Linked DNA regions of Homo sapiens: all the other regions are linked to region 3. The links are contacts of gene promoters, found by promoter capture Hi-C in blood cells and fetal thymus (Javierre and others, 2016). All regions are on one chromosome and are shown on one strand. Each heading gives the region's core, a stretch centred on a gene start or on the middle of the fragment in contact. The rest is flanking DNA. Distances are from core to core; before and after follow the strand shown.

Region 1 (2,700 bases), core at 36-2,535, 470 kb before region 3:
ACCCACCTACTTAAAGAATGGTGACCAGCAGCCTCAGCATCATCTGGTAGTATGGCAGAAAAATCATAATGTTGGTCCAACCCAGGTATCTAGAGATCCCAAGTAATCCTTACACAAATTTAAATGTGAAAATCACTACCTACAGTTCTTTATTTGGGGGAGATCAAAGTGACTAGTTTAAGATAAAAATGGCACTAACTTTAAACTGCTCCCCCTGAGGTGTCAGTTCCTAAGACCAGTCCAAGGGCGGGACACTCCTGCCCCATAGGGCAGGGAGGAATAACCTGGGATCCATACGATACCCACCGGAGGAGCAATTAAATCCGGACAAAGAATTCTTAAGCCAAAAGCTCCACCACGACCCTTTCACAGCACAAAATTACAGAACAGGACCAAACCCAAGAAAGATGGTGGCCGTAGCCACCAGGCCGACACTCGTCACTGCCGGACATGCGTCGGCCAGGACCACGCGAGGAGGGGGCGCCGCAGTGCACCCTCCCTCGCCCCAGCATCCGGGCACTGGGGCGGGGCGCCAGAATCCAGAAGCTTCCAGAACAATCTCAGCTCTCGAGGAAGGGCGGAGGAAGGAGCCCATGAATCTTCCAGAACCTGCTCCCCTCCCCGCCCCTCCTCCACCGGGACTGCAAGAAAGATCTGGAAGGAGGGAGTATCGGGTGCTGGAGACCGAAAGCTCTCTTCCCACACCGTCAACCCTCCCTCACAGAAACAAAGCACCCAAGAAGGCTTTAACAACGCGTCCGATAAGAGAGGTGACAAAGCCAGTCCCACAAGGCCGTGCTGAGTCACCCGAGCGGGCACCCCCGCCACCCTGCGGTCCCCCTCCGACGCCCCGTAGCCGCGTCCGGAAGTGGAGGGGCAAAAATGGCAGCGTCCCGGGCCGCGCGGCCACCACGTGCAGCTGCCAGCCGCCCACTGCCCCAACCCCACAGCCCACCTCGCTACGGCCAGCAGGCGCCGAGAGAAAGCCCCACCCCCCAAACACACTAGAGAAAACCGAGGAGGACTCAAAAAACCTCACCCACCACTACCCTCACCCTATAAAAATCCAGAGCGTTATCCACAAGCCACCCCGACATCTAGACTAAGGCTCCCTAAAGGACAGAAAAAAACAAAAACAACACGAATACAGCACTAAAGGGAAAGAAGCCTAGCGGAGATCTCAGCCTTACCTTGAAAAGAAAAGGATTATACGTAATAGTGAGCAACGTAGGCTTGCTTTCCGATACCCAGACAGTCCCAACACTGCGCCGGAGTGACTCGAGAGAGCTACTGCGTGCCCCAAGTCGCCCTATATAAGGCGAAGCACAGTACAGCCGCCCTCCTGTAGATCCCTCCGCCTTAAAGGAGTATGATTGTCAACCCCGCACCTGCCGCCACCAGCCCACCTTGACGTCATGGTCCGAAAAAAAGAGGGGGCGGGGAAGAACCCAAGCAACGGATCCGCCCACACATTTGCTTGTGATCACAGCCCCATAGTTTCACGTCTAGGACATGACTCCATCAAGAGCGGGGATGAGGAGTGCTCATTTGGCATAAACGGTGTCTCTACGGGCGAGGAACCCACTGACCTCCCTAAACACTTGTGGGGCAGGCGTCCCCACACCCAAGGGCGGGACTGGGGGGGACACCGAAAAAGAGCGGAGGCAGCTAACCACGCGGACCACCGCTCCCAGACCCAATCTTCTTCCTAGCATCTGCCCTACACATCTCGCGTCCCGACAGAGGGACTGGCATTCGGGACCCAACCTTGGGTAGCCCCAGATCCCGACTCTCGCAGGAGTAGAGGAAGGGCGGAGGGTTCGCGCTGAGGGGCAGCTCAGCGTAGGGGGAGGGCGCCGGCCGGGGCTGGCGGGGACTCTTTGCCGACATGCGGCGGAAGGCGCGGCGGCGGCACTGCGGCATTTCCAGCAGTTTCCAGGCCTGTCTCGGCGGTCCCGCCCCCTCCCCGCGAGGCTCCGCCTCTCCGGCTGCGGCCGGGGCAGGGTTTTTGCAGCGACCCCACCCGGCGACCCGCTCTGACCTGTCCGAGAGACGCGGGTACCAGCCCAATCCTCAGGGATGGGATGGAGGGTTGGGGAGGGATCGGCTGACCCCTCCTTCCCCGCGTCAATCACACAACACCCAGGCACCTGGGGCGGCTCTGCGGGCGTACACTTTTGCAGACTGAGAGTGGAGTACCTGCGGGGGGGACCCCCCTCTAGCCCCTGCGGCCGCCACGTACACGGAGCACGGGGACATGCGCCCTCCCTACGCAGGCACGTCAAGCCCTTTCTCAAGCTGGTTCGCTTTTTTTCCGCCCACTTCGCTCCTGCAGCCATTTGGACCTGGGAAGGAGGGAGTCTCTGGGAACCAGTGCAGGGCAGCCGGAGCTCTTGGAGGCCGCGTGACGATGCCGGCCACAGAGCGGCTGGCCAAGTTGTTCCCCTTCAGCCTTGGCACCAGAGCCCCTAGGCCATGCCCCTGGCCAGTGAGCTGCCGTGTCTGGCCTGGCTCAGCCGTTTTGCCTGCCCTCCAGTTGGCAAGCTGTCCTTGCCTTTCCAAGGCCTCATCCGAAAGCCTGCTGGACCCACAACCCCTCCAGGAGAGAATAGCCACTCCCTGCTCTGTGCCCTGTAGATGTCCATCTGCTCCCCTTCCTGGCCCACCCCTGGGATGCTTGGGAAGAGTTTCCCCACAGCC
Region 2 (2,700 bases), core at 1-2,500, 450 kb before region 3:
GATACCAGCTCAGAGCATCTGGTGTCCCTCCAACTATGCCTTGGCCTGCTGAGGTGGGCCCCTGAAAGTAGCCACCAAATTGAGTACCTCCCTGCCTCCAGACTCCCAACACCTCTCCTGCAATTCTCCACTCCCAGGATTTCATATGGGGCTAGCCACTACCTGCAGATCTCTTGTCTTTTCTTCACAACCACCCATAAGCTAGTACTAGCACTGAATAGATGGGGCCAGCTGAGGTTCAGAGGGGTTGAGTCACTTGCCTGAAGTCACAGAGCTGGTGAGTGGAGGAGCTAGAATCCATATTAAATGTTCAAGCTCCTTTTGGAATGGAGAGAGGTATAAAAGCTGCTTCTCAGTTAGCCCTGTAGACTGGGAGGTGGGGGGAACTCTGATTCAACTAAAGGGAAAAATGAGGTGGAGACCAAGATCATTCCCAGCCTGACTTGAGTGTCAGGCAGCTCAGCCCCGCCCCATCACACACATCCTGGCATGGGGAGCTTACACAAGCAGGAGGAAAGTTGGAGGGTCTGGAGGCCACCGAGAGGAGTAGGCAAAGGGACTACCACAGGGCTGCAGAGAGACCCCTAGAGGTGTGAGGGCAGGGTTGGAGCCAGCCTTGACCTACGACTGCTCTCTCCTGGTAAGCAAAGCCGAGGACTGTTTGTCTTCACCCTCTCATATACCCTCACAGTAAATCAGTAAATGAAGACGTGCGCAGGAAGGAGACGCCAGGGATACGAGTTTAGCCAGTAAAAGACCGGGGTTAAAGAGACAGCCCCGCACCTCCGCTCGCGAGCCTGCACCTCCGCTCGCGAGCCTCCATCCCCATCCCCATCCCCATACCCCTCCGCCAGCGCAGTCAGCGGCACGGCCCCTCCCTGATACCGACCAGATCGATGGGGATCACCCGTCCACTCGCCTGCCCCTTGCGGAGGTCAACGTGACCGCAGCCTGTTTTAGGCCCGGGAGCCAGGCCGCCCCGCCCAGCTTGGGTCCCGGTCCCCGCAGGGTCCTCAGGCTCCCTGGCCCGTGCGCGCCACGTGCTGCGCGGCTCCGCACGCTCCGCACTGGGGCCCCACCCGGCGTCCCTTCTCCGGGCTGCGGAGCCGTCAGGCCCGCCCTCCCTGCCCTCCGTGGCAGGCGGGCAGCGGCGTCTTCCGCCCCGGCAGTCCCCAGTCCCCAGTCCCCGGCCCCGGGCAGCACCTGCCGCAGAAGCACTGCTCCCGCGCTGAGATCCGCGCGCTCTCGCTGCAGCTTCCCTCTCCCGCCGGGGCACATTCAAACCCGCCCTCCGCTGAGCTCGCCCCGCCCTGCGCCCACTGCCACCTCCCCGACGCCCGCGGCCCCGCCCCCGGCCCACCCCTGCCACCCCGCGGCGACTCCGCGCGCTCCGCCGCTCCCACCCCGAGCCCCTGCGCCCCCAGGGCCGCCTGGTCGTGTTATTGCGGTAGATAGGACCTCTTTGGGCCCTGCCACACCAAGGCTGTCTGTCCATCGTGTGGGGTACATGGGGCTGGAGGGTACAGCCACACATTAAGGACCTGCGCAGACTCCCATAAAATTCATCTCGGGACTGTTCCATTTACACACCCGCTGCTCAGACCGGCCCCGACGCTCCACGGCCCACTCCACCTCAGATATTCCGTTATCCCTTCCCAAGCCCTGCCCACGCCGCGCTTCCTCCACACTGCACCTTTTTCCTCCCAGCGCCCTCCCTTTCAGCGCCCCCTTCTTTCTTTCAGTCCCCCTCCTCTTCTTTTCCTTCAAAACTGCTTCTGTCCCCACCGCGCATTTTCTGTGACCAGCATGATGGGTTTTCCCATCCCTGACACATCCAGTCCCAGCCACAGACGCGCAAACACCACCCCACTCACAACTTTGACTTGGAGGGGGTATGTGCCTCTGCCTGTGCTTGCGTGTGCGCGCGGAGGGGGGTGGGGCAAAGCCCTCCAGCTCCCTCATAATTCACCCTTTCTAAATCCAGCACTTTGGAAAACTGAGGCACAGGTGGGAATGGGAAGAGAAAAAGCTAGGAACAGCCTTATATCCTCAGTGAATCCTATTGTCCCAGCCATCCTGACAGGCGGAAGCCTTGCTGAGTATGTCTTTCACTAGCTAAGGAGGAAGGTGTGGGCGTGCTGAGGGGTGGTCCAGCAAGTCCCTCCAAGGGAGGGGGAGGGAGGCCCTCTCTTTGGTCGGGCAATAAATGGGGTGGGGTGGGGGGCACTCCCTGCCCTTCCAGCAGTACTCAGTGCTAGAGGATGATCCTAAGGCTGGAAAGGTCCTGAGGAGAAAATCCAACCCACGCTGCCCACCCCATGCCCACTGACCCGAAGGGCTTGTCCCCTAGAGAAGCCACAGACACTGATTAACAACTGGCAGTACCTCACATCATAGGGATAAGGTAGTCCTACCCTGTCCCCAGAGAAACAGACAGGGCCCTAAGGAGAGAGGTGGCTTTTCTAATTAGGGTCAGTGGCTCTCCCCAAGCTACTCCAGAATGGGTGTCCCCAGCCTTCTGTTTCCATGCCCCACAGAGATGACACACATATTCCTTCCCAACCCTCCCCCACCCCACCCCCATCCCCCACATCCCCGCCAGCCCTAACCAGAGGGCAGGAAGATGGGTTTAGGTGGTATTTTTCCAGGCACAGCCCCATGACTTGAGAGTGGCTTCATGTCTGTCCACAACCCCCTAAT
Region 3 (2,700 bases), core at 1-2,500:
AAAGGAAGGAAGCAGATCACAGAGGTTAGTGACCCAGCCAGCCATACCCAGATGGGACAACCCTGGGGCTCCTGCCACTCAGCACCCAGGGGTTCTGCAGAGCAGGGATGGGTGGTGGAGGCAGGGAGGACCAAGAGCTCTAGCAGGAAAGAGGCTCAGGCCCACCCCAACTCCCCCAACCCTGCTGGCCTCAAGGAGCCCTTGTTCCACTTGAGGCCAAGACATGGCTGCAAGGGTTGGCCAGGCTGGGAATTCAAATCCTAGGTTCTTACCACTCCCCATCCCCTCCCCTTCTTTCATCCTCTCTAGGCTTCACCCTGACTCCTAGTAGATACCCGAAAGCAACCCCCTCCCTGTGTTTCACAGCTCCCTCCCACCCTATCTGGGCTGAGATGTGCCCCATTACCAGGTAACACCAAAAGACTTTTTAAACTCTCCATGGACCAGGCTCATCCAGCTTCCCAAACAAAGCCCCCAAGAAGGGGGGGCACTCAGGACTCTCTCCAAGAGAGGGAGAGAGGGGCTCCTGACACAGGCATCCATCTGTCCCCTCCTGAGCCCATGGGCAACCATCAGGGAGAAGGAGATGGTTGGGGCTTGCTGGGAACCTGGGCTGGGAATGAAGCATCTTCTCCACAGAAGGCAAGACCCCACCATACCTCCCCTGTGCAACTCAGGGGCAGGAGCCAGACAAGGCAAATCTAGCCAGGAAACGACCTGGGACCACCTGTTCCCAAAGTGTTACCCCCCTCCCTATCCCCCCCTTGCCCCACTTCCCAAAGATGCCCACCTGCATGGTGATGTTGGACTCCTCAGTGGGCACACACTCCAGGCCCTCGTCATTGCAGCAGCCCCCGCATCGCATCAGGGGCACACAGGATGGCTTGAAGATGTACTCGATCTCATCAGGGTACTCCTGGAAGATGTCCACCAGGGTCTCGATTGGATGGCAGTAGCTGCGCTGATAGACATCCATGAACTTCACCACTGCATGAGAGGCGATGACACATGAGCCCGGTGGGCGACACAAAAGATGGCTAGCCCCTCTCTCCACCCAGCTCTGTAATGCCACTCTTTGGAGCTTCCGAATCAGGCAAGTCCTTCCAAAATCTAACGTAAGTCCCTCCTACTGTGTTTGAAGCACTTCCCTAAGCTTTCCACCATCAACACTGGTGAAGGCCTGTTTTCATTCCAGAGATCACACGATGTACTCAAGTTCCAAGGGACATGGCCTGCCACATCTGATCCCGCCACCTCACTGTGACAGCTGAACTGAATCCTGGGCCAACCTCGATGCCAGAGGACAGTCTGAGTATGGGTATACCCCATGGGGATGCTCTAAGCTTTCCCTAAAAGGAGGAAGAGCCAGCTTTGCCAAGCTAGTCTCCAGTTTCCTACGTCCTCCCCACAACCACTACCATAACGTCAACCATACCAACAGCTGTTTATTGAGCACTTACTACATCCTGAGTACTGTGTACAGTAGTCCACAGCTATCATTTCACACAAGTTTCTCCACATGGTACTATTAGACACTATTGAGATTCCATTTTACAGATGGGGAACAGGAGGCTCAAAGAGGCTAAGTAAGTTGCCCCAAGGCCGCACAGCTAGTAAGTAAAGGAGTCAGAATTAGCTGACATCAAAGTGTTCCCAAGCCTATATTAGGCAAAAACAGAGGAGGCACCTTTCAGGAGGAGGCACCTTTCCCCCTGCCAGTCCTCTTCCCCAGACATGAGCTGAGAAGGTGGTGGGCATCAGCACAGGGGCTGGGCCCTCCTGGAACCCACAGGTGGCAGTGGGCGGACACGCTGTGCCAGCCCTGCCAGCCACTGATAACCCCGCCCAAGAGGGCAAACTGCTTGCATCATGGAAAAAACAGTGCTGCCACTGTAGCCACGAAACATTTCTAGAAGCTGATCTGAAGGGAGACCAGGGTAGAGACAGTTTCCCAGGCTGGCCACGAAGCCTGGGGTGCACTGGAGCATGAAGGGGTAATTCTGGGCCACAGAGGCGGGGCCCTTGAGAATAAATAAATGCAGGACTCTGGCATGACTACTCCAAATTGTGGCCCAGCCTGCCACGCCTATCGCACCCCACCACCACTACCACATAGCAATCCTGTCCCTGAAATAGGTTCCCTACCCAGAGGGAAGAAATAACACCTGGCCAGTGAGGAGGCCCAGGCTCTGGCCATGAGTTGGTATGACCTTGGGCCAGTCCCTCCCCTCTCTAGGCCTCCAACTCTGCTCAACTGTGTAAGTGGGTTGGGCTGATCTCTAAAGATGCTGAAACAGGCTGAAAAAGGTGGTGTTTTGGCTTCCATTTCCAGCCCTAGGAACAAGTGCTCTTTTTTCAGCCTGGGTAATATGAAGTTTAGAACTTCACCAAAGCATCTTAAGTGTATGCTTCGTGGACTTCCACCCCAGCTCCCAACCCCCACCCCCCAGAGACCACAGCTGAGCCTCCCCCTCACTCCTCCCTCCAAGGTCTGCTTTCCAGAAGAATAAAGGACAATGAGGGGGGCTATGTACACAATAGGTTGATTGGGAAGAAGGTGGGGAGAAGGCCACAGGTGTGAAAACAGAAAGAACAGTGGGGAAACAGGCCAGTCCACTGCTTCCTGTGAGGTCTCTATTTCTTTTATCCAGACCACCAATGGGCACAGAATCCTTCTCTACCCACGAAGGGTTACGGCAA

What was found. The method cuts DNA at HindIII sites, captures the fragments that hold promoters and counts their contacts. A CHiCAGO score of 5 or more calls a contact.
Region 1: a contact is called between the fragment with the promoter of HSP90AB1 here and a fragment that was not itself captured in region 3, in 2 of 17 cell types (monocytes and neutrophils). The highest score is 6.6, in monocytes.
Region 2: a contact is called between the fragment with the promoter of SLC29A1 here and a fragment that was not itself captured in region 3, in 8 of 17 cell types (total CD4 T cells, activated CD4 T cells, naive CD8 T cells and 5 more). The highest score is 7.3, in total CD4 T cells.

Annotation. Positions count from the first base shown.
Region 1 is chr6:44,245,686-44,248,385 of GRCh38, reverse strand. It overlaps HSP90AB1 (heat shock protein 90 alpha family class B member 1), which reads right to left and starts at 1,285. Exons shown (of 12, transcript NM_007355.4): 1 at 1,191-1,285. RefSeq lists enhancers at 186-235, 720-1,474, 2,229-2,700 and a silencer at 1,786-2,025. The HindIII fragment of the contact is 5,727 bases long and covers 549-2,700 here.
Region 2 is chr6:44,222,145-44,224,844 of GRCh38, reverse strand. SLC29A1 (solute carrier family 29 member 1 (Augustine blood group)) reads right to left here and starts at 1,250. Exons shown (of 13, transcript NM_001372327.1): 1 at 1,204-1,250. RefSeq lists enhancers at 171-320, 563-1,421 and a silencer at 1,011-1,410. The HindIII fragment of the contact is 15,932 bases long and covers 1-2,700 here.
Region 3 is chr6:43,775,756-43,778,455 of GRCh38, reverse strand. It overlaps VEGFA (vascular endothelial growth factor A), which reads right to left. Exons shown (of 8, transcript NM_003376.6): 3 at 791-987. Among named protein-coding and RNA genes, the nearest start is that of VEGFA, 6.9 kb to the right of the region's middle. The HindIII fragment of the contact is 190 bases long and covers 1,156-1,345 here.